Linked DNA regions of Homo sapiens: region 1 is linked to region 2. The links are contacts of gene promoters, found by promoter capture Hi-C in human tissues and cell types (Jung and others, 2019). All regions are on one chromosome and are shown on one strand. The core of a region is centred on a gene start or on the middle of the fragment in contact, and the rest is flanking DNA. Distances in the headings are between cores, read along the strand shown. Region 1 has its middle 15 kb from the start of RPL37A. Region 2 holds the start of AAMP (angio associated migratory cell protein).

Region 1 (6,106 bases), core at 2,332-4,831, 1.8 Mb after region 2:
CAGTACACAAAACAAATAGTGAATATGGTGATATACATGCAACAGTAACGATTGTATTTCCCTCTTGACATTGTTATGAATAGCCAGGCACGGTAGCTCATGTCTGTAATCCCAGCACTTTGGAAGGCTGAGGCAGGAGGATCGCTTAAGCTCAGGAGTTTGAGACCAGCTTGGGAATCATAGTGAGACTTTGTCTCTACTAAAAATAAAAAAATTAGCCAGGTATGTTGGTGCATGCCTGTAGTCCCAGTTACTCAGAAAGCCAAGGCAGGAGGATCACTTGAGACCAGGAGTTTGAGACTGCAATAAGCCGTGATCATGCCACTGCACTCCAGCCTGGGCAACAGAGCAAAGCCCTGTTTCAAAAACAGAAGAGACATTTTAAGGAATACATCAATGTTTAATGCCAGCTCAGGAAACAAAATGGAACAGGCAGGCTTCAGGAACAGAAAACAAATCACAAAGGTGTTGGTTCTTGTACAGTGTGAAAAGTCTATTTTTTTAAAAAAAGATGAGCATTGGACAGGCGTGGTGGCTCATGCCTGTAATACCAGCACTTTGGGAGGCCAAGGCAGATGGATCACTTGAGGTCAGGAGTTCAAGACCAGCCTGACCAACATGATGAAACCTCATCTCTACTAAAAATACAACAACAAAAAAAAATTAGCTGGGTATAGTGGTGCACGCCTGTAATCTCCTGTAACTGAGAGGCTGAGACAGGAGAATCACTTGAACCCGGGAGGCAAACATTATAGTGAGCCGAGATCATGCCACTGCACTCCAGCCTGGGCGACAGAGCAAGACTCCATCTCAAAAAAAAAAAAAAAAGATGGTTAGCATCTATTACTGCTACCTCTTGAGTGCTGAAACATTTCTTAACATTTTAAGTTTTGCTTGATAGAGATTTCTATTATTTAGAAATTAACAAATTCACGTTTTCCAGCTTATGATGATTCCAACTTGCTGGGTCGTCTTGTTCATTGCCATTGCTTTTTTTTTTTTTTTTTTTTTTTTTTTTTTTTTTTTCAGATAGGATCTGGCTCTGTCGCCCAGGCTGGAGTGCAGTGGTGCAATCTCGGCTCAGCTCACTCCAACCTTTGCCTCATGGGCTCAAGCCATTCTCCCACCTCAGCCTCCCAAGTAGCTGGGACCACAGGCGCATGCCAGCACACCTGGTTAATTTTTCTATTTTTTGTACAGACAGGGTTTCGCCATGTTGCCCAAGCTGGTTTTGAACTCCTGGGCTCAAGCAATCTGCCCACCTCCGCCTCTCAAAGTGCTGGGATTACAGGTGTGAGCCACCATAGCCAGCCCCTTGATTTTCTCTAGTCAGTGTTTCTCTAAGTTCTTCAATTAATTGTTCAATTTGCACCTCAAGAATATTTTCAGAGCCATTGCCACCTACTTATCTAGTGTTTCATATCAATGCCCCAGAATTGCTGAAAAATCATGCACGTTTTCCATATGTTTAACAATATATATGTCCTTCTTTGTCTCTAGTAATGCTTTTTTGCCTTTAAGTCCACATTGTCAGATATTAACACAGCTTTCATTTCATGGATCATTATTTCTTAAATGCCTGTTATATCTTTTTCCATCCTTTTACTTTCACTCTTTCGGTATCTTTATAACTTTGGTGAGTCTGTTTCCTTATATTTTATTTTTATATCTGATTCCTTGTGCTTTAGGTTTTTCTTTAATCCTTATACTTTGGGTATGTAATCCAATTTGACTATATCTTTAATTGACACACTTAGTCTATTTGTATGCAAAGTTATTACTGGCACATTTATATATATAATATGTATATTATATACGTGTGTATATATACATGTGTACACAGGCATATGTTACATACAATATGTAATATTGTAATACACATGTAATATGTACTATATTATATATATTACAAATGTATAAATTTAGATATAAATATATATAAATGTGCCTATATATATATGTGTGTGTGTGTATGTATATACATGTGTGCACAGGTACGTTTAAATCTACCTTACTAGGTACTACTTGTCTTACAAATTCTTTTTCTCTCTCCTCTGTTTTTCAATTCTATTTCCATTGTATTGTTATATATTACTTTCTATTCTTTTCATGATTATCAGAGATTGCAACATATACTAACTTTGTAGTTTGACTTCTTCCAGAACAATGCAAGAACCTTCGAATATTTTAACACTATTTACCCTTTCCCAATTTATATGCTGCTGTAATACATTTTCGTTTCACTCCCCAAAGTTGTTGCTGCTACTATTCATGTGGTCTAAATTCACTTGTATTTACTGACATAGTTCCCGTTTGTTGACTGCCACTCCTTCCTTCAAGTCTCATCCATGGATTATTTGCCTTCTGTGTGATGTGTGGGTGTGCTAGTGATCAATTCCGTCAGTATTTTATTGGTGGTGGTGGCAGAGGTAACTGTCTTTGTTTCACCTTCATATTCTGATGTTATAATTGCTGAGTACAGAACTTGAAGCACTTTCAAAGTATAACTCTATTTTCTTCTAGATTCTATGGTTGTTAAGAAGTTAACTGTTAGTGTTACACCTTTTTTGCTACTAGCTGCTTTTATTATGCTCTTTTTCTCTGGGATTCAGTAATACTATGACATTCTTAGGTGTAACTTTTAAATTTTTATTTTGTGTAAGTTTACAGGGATACTTTAAACTGTGGCTTGGTATCTTTCATTGGTTTTGGGGGAAAAAAAGCCATTATCATCTCTCCTTTCTCCTGTGGGACTCCAATTATATACTATAACTGAGGCCAGGCATGGTGGCTCACACCTGTAATCCCGGCACTTTGGGAGGCTGAGGAGGATCGCTTTAGGCCAGGAATTTGAAACCAGCCTGGGCAATATAGCAAGAAACCAGCCCGGGCAACATGGCAAGATCCAATCTCTACTACTATTACTACTAATAATAATAACAATAAGCCGGGCATAACACACAGTAGCTTCTGGCCTAGCTACTCGGGGGGCTGAGGCCAGAAGACCACTTGAGCCCAGGAGTCCCAGGCTGCATTGAGCTATGATTGTGTCACTGTACTCTTGCCTGGGCAACAGAGGAGACTGTCTCTAAAAAGAAAAGAACTCTTAACTAGCTCCTATGTCTTGTACACGTATTTGTTCTTTTCCTTTTTTGGTGCTTCTTTCTGGATATTTTCTTTTGATATGGCAAGGTATCTGAAGCACAGAGCTGAAATTATTGGATGGTAAAGGTGATAATCTGGAGAGACCACCTTTTCTGCCTGCTGGTTCAGCAGTAGAATGAGCTCAAAGTGATCAGAGAACTGACTCAAGATTTCAATTTAAATGGAACCAAGGTTGAATTCCCTGAGAGAAACATTACTTCCTTAGGAACTAGGACCTCCAAAGTCACCAAACTCAAAAGCAGGTCAAAAGCGGGGGAAATAAAAATGCTTTCAGTGGGTTAACTGGCAGAATTTTCAATGTAGTAAGTTCCACCTCCATCACTTGATTTCTTGACCTATCCATTCTGGCTATGGAAGAGGTAGCACTATATACTGATAGATTTAAGGTATAAACTACATCTTGTAGGACAGTACCTTAAACTCTATATGGTATGGGATATCACACTGATGGATAAGGCATTCTGCAAGCCCATGAATGGTAATGCTGGCAGATACACTGTAGGCAAGAGACAACTCCATACCCATAATACATGTCTATCCCTGGGATGACAAACTGCTGCCCTTTGCATGATGGGAGACATCTAATGTACACTTAGGGAATAGTGTCACATTAGCTGCTCAGCATAGGCCTCTTTTGTTGCAGTTCTATCCACATATCTATGCTTGAAACATCCTTGTGTTCAACCTTGAAGAAGTATCCAGCCTTCCATTCTTGTTCCTTCCAAATCTCTGGCCAGCTTGTACGAACCCATTAGCCATTTCAAGGTAATGTGAGTATCTGGAGACACCACCCTTTTCTGCCTGCTCATCAATCAATATAAGTCTCTACTTCAGACCATCTCTTCTTGCATGCAAAGGGGATACTATCTTAAGTTCTGCCCACTGGGAGGACTTCCCTTTACCACTGTCCTCCCTCTACCTCTGTCCGCTTTCAGCTGATGCCAGTACAGGATGTAGTTCTATCCATGATGCACTTTTCCCTCTTCCATTAGCTGACATAACAAACTCCCCAAGAAGACAACTGATTCCAGGAGAAACAGTGAGGCAGTAGGAGAATACACCTAAATATATTCCATGGGAATCTAAGAGTCCATGGGAATCTAAGCTTCATGCTTAAAACAGCATACTTGTATTTTCTGGATATTCTCTGGTACAATTTTGTATAAACCATTTCCATTTTGGAATGGAATGCTGTTGCACACATCTAATTTTATAATTTTATAGATCAGATAACATCAAGTTTATAATAAACAGATTCAGTTGCAAAGAAACGTGATGTTCCATGCTCAGGTATTCTACCAGGGTCTAGTAGCAAACCAGACCTAATTTTTAAATAGATAACAGATGTCAGCAGAAGAGGTCATTAATTTCAAATCCCTAGTGCACTACAATTTTTCTTTTGCAGCATCATAGGACATCTCTATCTGCCACTAACACCTCGAATCTACTTAGATTTGCTAGGTCATACAGACCAAGTGCCAGAACAACTTGGGACTACAACTTGGATCTGCTGCCAAGTCTGTTTTTTCTCCAGGCTCTACTGAAAACTCTGACAGACTCCACTCAAGTCTTACAGGTTACTCAGTAAATGGGACAGAGAAGCACACTCAATGTGACTTACTTTGCAACCATCCCCCTCAATCCAAACGGACCCAGTAAAGATTATGTCTCTTAGTTGGGAATAGTCTACAGTGCAGCAACTTGTCTATCACTTCAGGTAGGAAATCCCCAAGATAACCTAAACACCATATTCATATCGTACTGGGTATATCATTCTCAACACTTCCTGATCTCTTTAGGTCCACTTGTTACGTCATCAGTGTAATGGATCAGTATCTTCCCTAAGACACCAAAATGATCAAGATCTTTCTGGATTATATTATAATAGTATATGATGCCGGGCACAGTGGCTCATGCCTGTAATCCCAGCACTTTGGGAGGCTGAGGCAGGCAGATCACCTGAGGTCAGGAGTTTGAGACCAGCCTGGTCCACATGGTGAAACCCTGTCTCTACTAAAAATACAAAAAAATTAGTCGGGCATGGTGGTGCATGCCTGTAATCCCAGCTACTCAGGAAGCCGAGGCAATAGAATTGCTTGAACCCAGGAGGCAGAGGTTGCAGAGCCGAGATCGCACCATTGCACTCCAGCCTGGGCACAGAGTGAAACTCTGTCTCAAAAACACAAAAAGGAATTAATACTGGGAATTTTAAAAAAAAACATTTGTTTACCAATTCATTTAAAAATAACAGTAACACCATTACGTTAACATCAATAACATATGAGTTGTATATGAGTATATGAGTTGATAGCCCTGAAGTAAAACAGTGAAAGTATACTGCTGTCCCTGCAAGTGAAGATAAACTAGTTTTGACTACTTTGCAGATAGGGATGAAAGGAAAAAATACATTTGTTAGGTTAATAGGAGCAGTATGTCATGGCCAGAAGATATGTTGATTTCCTCCAATATAGATTTATACCCAGAATCATAGCTGAGGTTAGTTATGATCATAAGATCATTATTCATGAAAATTTCAGATGTTTGGATAAGCCATTTATCTGTGATTCACCCAGGGATTCCTTTTGTTTTACTGTGTGTAGGAGAGGCAACCCTAGAGGTTTGCACTTGATTTTCCAACCCTAACAGCCCTCCCTCCATGGGCCATGGGTCAAATAAAGGAGTTTCACCATTCTGGAAATAGGGTAAAAAACAAAGGATGGAGCCACCATTCCACATTATCCACTGTGAGATATTCAATCCAAGACATCATCTGCCATCTGACCTCCAAAAGCTCCTACTCTGACCACAGTGAGTGGTCTCAGGTCCCCATGGGGAAGAGTTGGGGGGACTTTGCCCCCCAACTTGTATACTTGTGGCTCTGTTGTAGTGTTCTTCCATCAGTTGAGGGACAAAATCCAAGGGGCATTACCTTATAATTAGA
Region 2 (5,483 bases), core at 839-3,338:
GCCCTGACGCTTTCCCTCTCTGAGACTTGGCCAAGGTACCCTCCCAGTTTTCCCCTCTTAAGCTAAGTAACCACTGCTTGGGAGGCACTTTGGTATGGGGGAAAGAGCATGGAGTCACAGACTAGGTGAGAATCCTAGCTCAGTCTCAGTTCCTTCCTCTGTGAAATGGGGATGTAATACTTATCTCAAACACTAAAACATTACATGGCAAAGTACTGGCACACCTCACATGCAGAAAAAAATGTTGATTTCTTCCTCCTTTCTCTTTAATATTGGTCAATAATATGTATTAAGGTCAGAGTCAGAGCCCAATCACAATGTTCATAACGCCTTCTGAGTACTACTATACAACTAGTACAAGCTCACATGATCTCAACGAACTACTTACTTAAACTTGGGTCTCACTCCAAGCTCCCAAAAGGGAGGATGAGGCCAGGGACCCAAGTCTGAATCAGATCAACTCAGCTTACTCCACAGTAAACCCACTGTCTTCTCAATTCCACATACTTTCCCACCTCCACTGCCCCACCCCTCTGAGATTCCAATCGAACCCAACAATTCTGTTCCCACAACTTTGGATTCAGCTCGCCACCTGAAACTTGGAGAAGTTTCTAAGTCCTGCCCTCCCCTACAAGCCACGCCCCGTTGGTGGGCAAAGGGGTGGTTAAAACTCACCAGGCCAGTCCCACAGCTTTCATGGGGTTCTTGCCCCTCTTTCTGGGAATGTATTCCAGCTCCGGGGATAGGGGTTCAGGTTCCTCCTTGCCCTCTGGGGAGCTGTGGCTTTGCAGGGCCCGGGTCCTGTTATGAGAAGCCTTGTTAGCTGTGGCTCCTGCGAGAATCCCTGTGGATGGAGGTAAGGAAGGTCAGTAAGAAGAGATGAGAAGAAAGCAAGCGGGGAGGTGGGGGGCAGTAAGGGCTTGGGAGGAGCGGCTGAGATCTGGGGAAGGGGAGTGACTGCAGTCTGAAGTAAGAAGTGCCAAGGAGAATCCAAAGGGAAATGGGAAAATCGCCACCGAGGTGGCACCTTTGGAAGCCACTTCCACGTCACTGCGGGCTCATCACCCTGGTGCCAGGACGAAAAGCTTCGCTGTTCTTCCTCAGACGACAGCATGGGAAGGACTGCAGTGGGACTCACATAAGACGTATGAAGGAAATCCGGGAAAAGGTTTTGAAACTGCAAATGTTAGCACTGGAAGGGACCTTAAAGATAGTCTACTCCATCCCTTGCACTGTACGGAAGAGGAAACTGAAGCCCTGAGAGAAAAACTGCTTTGCCCAAGGTCAAACTGCTAATTATCCGGGGCTGGAACTCAAACCTCCAGAAGCCCGGGGCTCTTTCCTCTGCACTGCGGTGAGTGTGAAACACCTGGAGCGCGGGAGTCCAACAGGCTTCCTAGGAGCTCCCTCTTGCAGCAAGACCCCGGAGGTGTCGAGCAACCCGAAGGCGGGGGGATGCACTGGGTGACCTCTAAAGAGCATCTCTGCACCCCCAGACTCTAAGATCTTGCAGAAAAGTGTGGGGAGGAACCAAGAGCCCTGACCTCCTGCTATCGTCGGGCTGGACGTGAAAGAAAAGGGATCTTCTGCAGTCCTGCCCTCCCCGGGGTCCCTCTCCTTACCCCGGAGGACGCGGGCATTTCTCGCCCCCCGGCCCTTCAGCGCCGTAGCAGCTACCACCGCCGCCATGTTCAGATCCCACCCCCGCTTCACCGCGCTCCCCGCCGGGAATTGTAGTTTGCGTAAGGGGCCTCCCCCGCTCCTTCCGTCCTGCCTACAGACCAGAAACTACATCTCCCAGAAGCCCGCAGAGCGGACCCAGGAGAACTACTCTTCCCAGGAGACCCCGGAGGCGCGCGCGCTCGCTTGTTTCCCTCCAGTTGGGGGCGGAGTCAGGTGGGGCGGAGTTTGGGTTCTCTCCGCCACGCCCCGGCCCCATCTTCCAATGCCGCTCTGTGATTGGTGAGGCGGCCAGCCAACCTTCGTAGCTATTGGCCGAACGGCCGTCGCTCTTCCTGCTGGGGAGTCGCCTACGCCTACTTCCTGCCGGGAGGAGGGGCTCGAGTTCCGCGTCGTCGCGCAGAGCTGACTCTGGGAGGCGTTTGGGCCCAGAGAAGTGGATCCGCCGCTTGCGCCGCATGGAGTCCGAATCGGAAAGCGGGGCTGCTGCTGACACCCCCCCACTGGAGACCCTAAGCTTCCATGGTGATGAAGAGATTATCGAGGTGGTAGAACTTGATCCCGGTCCGCCGGACCCAGGTGAGAACTGCCGCTCCTCAGGCCATGGGACAGGAGACGCTCACCCCTGGCCTCTGACTCCTGCTTTTCCCCGCTCCCCTCCACACCCGACTGGTCATTCCTACCGATATCCCTCTTCCCCTCCTCCCCCACTCCCACCCTCACACTTAGTTCTCAGGCCTGGCTGGGGTGGGGGTTCCCTGACGCCTCCTCTGGCCCTTCCCCTCACACACCCCCTTCCCATCATCCCCTTGGCCCTCCCTTACCGCACGGTCTCTGGCCAGCCGTGGCCTCCCGTCCTGTGTCCCGCGCGCCCCCGCGGACCCCGGTGTGTCTGACTCCACCTTCCCTTCTCGCCACATGACCCGCCCCAGCCTCAGGCCTCCTCATGCTTCTCTCCGTACCTCTTACCGCCTCCCGAGCCCCATCTTCTAACCCTCTCCCCAAAGCAGATGACCTGGCCCAGGAGATGGAAGATGTGGACTTTGAGGAAGAAGAGGAGGAAGAGGGCAACGAAGAGGGCTGGGTTCTAGAACCCCAGGAAGGGGTGGTCGGCAGCATGGAGGGCCCCGACGATAGCGAGGTCACCTTTGCATTGCACTCAGGTAGGTCTTTGAGGCGATCCACCTCAAATCAGTTTAGGTGGGCGTGTAAGCATTAAACATCAGCCATGGACAGAACGTTATGGGGGACACAGAGATGGGCAAGATGCTGGCCTTGCGCTGGAGGAGCCCACAGGTGGGAAAGTGTGGCAGAATGGATGATTGCTTGGCTTCTGGCATCAGTCGAGACACCCTCTACTTTGCCAGTTAACCTTGATTAACCTCTTAGTTTTCTTTTAAAAAGTTATCTTTGGCCGGGCGTGGTGGCTCACTCCTGAAATCCCAGCACTTTAGGAGGCTGAGGCAGGTGGATCACTTGAGGTCAGGAGTTCGAGACCAGCCTGGCCAACATGGCAAAACCCAGTCTCTACTAAAAATACAAAAATTTGGCTGGGCATGGTGGCTCACGCCTGTAATCCCAGCACTTTAGGAGGCCCAGGCAGGCGGATCACAAGGTCGGGAGTTCCAGACCAGCCTGGCCAATATGGTGAAACCCCGTCTCTACTAAAAATACAAAAATTAGCTGGGCGTGGTAGCGGGCGCCTGTAGTCCCAGCTCCTCGGGAGGTTGAGGCAGGAGAATTGCTTGAACCCGGGAGGCGGAGGTTGCAGTGGACCAAGACTGCGCCATTGCACTCCAGCCTGGGCAACAGAATGAGAGTCTGTCTCCAAAAAAAAAAAAAAAAAAAAAGTTATCTTTGATAAAAGTTAATAAAAGTAGTGAGTATAAAATTAGAGATAATTGGCCAGGTGCGGTGGCTCATGCCTGTAATCACAGCACTTTGGAAGGCCAAGGCGGGTGGATCACCTGAGGTCGGGAGTTCAAGACCAGCCTGGCCGACATGGTGAAACCTCATCTCTACTAAAAATAAAAAAAAAATTAGCTGGGTGTGGTGGCATGTGCCTGTAATCCCAGCTACTCCGGAGGCTGAGGAAGGAGAATCACTTGAACCTGGGAGGCAGAGGTTGCATTGAGCTGAGATTGTGCCACTGCGCTTCGGCCTGGGCGACAGAGCAAGATTCCATCTCAAAAAAATAAAATAAAATGAGAGATAATTATATCTTTTTGAGCATATTTTATATAACTTTCTCAAGTGCTAGTTCTTAGTAAGAAACTGTTGCCAGGCACGGTGGCTCATGCCTGTAATCCCAGCACTTTGGGAGGCCGAGGCGGGTGGATCAGAAGGTTAGGAGTTCGAGACCAGCCTGACCAACATGATGAAACCCCATCTCTACTAAAAATACAAAAATTAGCTGGTTGTGGTGGCGGGCGCCTGTAATCCCAGCTACTCAGGGGGCTGAGGCAGGAGAATTGCTTGAACCTGGGAGGTGGAGGTTGCAGTGAGCTGAGATTGTGCCACTGCACTCCAGCCTGGGCGACAGAGCAAGACTCTGTCTCAAAAAACAAAAAACAAAAAACAAAAAACCCTTAACGTGATGCTCTCCTCGCTCTGTACCCAACCCCGGTGGCATCCCATGCTGACAACTGTAAGCCCTGCACCTGTCCCCACCTCTTGTCCATGGCATTGGTGTTGGGTGGTGACGGGAGTCACACAGTGAGGGGATCTACTCTGGCAAATAGGGAGCTTGGCAAATATGGGAAGGATCTAACAACCCAATTCTTGAAACTTAGAAGAACTTGGATGTACCTGTGTTTTCCAGGAGGAAAGACACGCTTTGGGTGAAAGGGGGTGGGTTTCCTGAAGATTGTGAAGGACAGAGCCCTAGGTGGGAGCTCTGTCCCCTTACCCATGGAATATCTCTTGGGACAGCATCTGTGTTTTGTGTGAGCCTGGACCCCAAGACCAATACCTTGGCAGTGACCGGGGGTGAAGATGACAAAGCCTTCGTATGGCGGCTCAGCGATGGGGAGCTGCTCTTTGAGTGTGCAGGTGAGGGGGCTGGGGTAGAGGCCTGGGAGAGGTCATATTCTTTTGGGAGATCTTAGGAGGCTGACCTGCAGAGGTTGTGCATCCAACAGCCACTTAGTGACATCTCTTTTGTGCCAGCTCTGTGCTGGGCCCCAGGGACACGGGGCGAATACTAGTGTGTTTTGGGCACAGAGGCAGGAGGCACTAATTGGCCAAGGGAATCCAGGAAAGGCCAGAGAAGGCCACATTGGTATAGGAGCAGGCGGGCAGAGGTGTAGAGTGGACAGAAGGGGGAAGGCATAGGAGGCTGGGACTTGGTCTGGTTGAGTGAGGGCCAGCAGTGTCTCCCAGCAGACATGGGAGTATTGGTTCCTAGAGTGGTGGTGAGTTCCAGCACCTGTTCTGCTCAGTCCCGCCCCTCTTTTTTTCCTAGCTGGTCCTTTCAGTGGGCCAGATACCAGAATCACATGCCCCCAGCACCAGGTACCCTATTTTTTTCCTCTGTTTTCTGCCCACTTTTCTTTGAAGGCCATAAAGACTCTGTGACTTGTGCTGGTTTCAGCCATGACTCCACTCTAGTGGCCACAGGGGACATGAGTGGCCTCTTGAAAGTGTGGCAGGTGGACACTAAGGAGGAGGTCTGGTCCTTTGAAGCGGGAGACCTGGAGGTAAGATCATCAGAGCGGGAGTCAGCTCTGTGGGGCCTTGGGTTGTTGGGGGTGCAAGCTTGGGAGGCCAGTTCTGCCTTTATTGCGCCAAGCCAGCTCTGAGCC

Evidence for each region. The method cuts DNA at HindIII sites, captures the fragments that hold promoters and counts their contacts. A contact is called where the count stands out against the background at its distance.
Region 1: a contact is called between a fragment that was not itself captured here and the fragment with the promoter of AAMP in region 2, in 1 of the 25 tissues and cell types used here (lymphoblastoid cells).

What each region holds. Positions count from the first base shown.
Region 1 is chr2:216,510,627-216,516,732 of GRCh38, reverse strand. No RefSeq gene overlaps it. Among named protein-coding and RNA genes, the nearest start is that of RPL37A, 15 kb to the right of the region's middle. The HindIII fragment of the contact is 3,266 bases long and covers 1,949-5,214 here.
Region 2 is chr2:218,266,742-218,272,224 of GRCh38, reverse strand. AAMP (angio associated migratory cell protein) reads left to right here and starts at 2,088. Exons shown (of 11, transcript NM_001087.5): 1 at 2,088-2,259; 2 at 2,691-2,843; 3 at 4,612-4,731; 4 at 5,239-5,378. The coding sequence starts at 2,139. It overlaps PNKD (PNKD metallo-beta-lactamase domain containing), which reads right to left and starts at 1,706. Exons shown (of 10, transcript NM_015488.5): 1 at 1,623-1,706; 2 at 676-844. The coding sequence starts at 1,689. RefSeq lists enhancers at 1,412-1,461, 1,492-1,871, 2,022-2,341, 2,910-3,795. The HindIII fragment of the contact is 2,176 bases long and covers 1,642-3,817 here.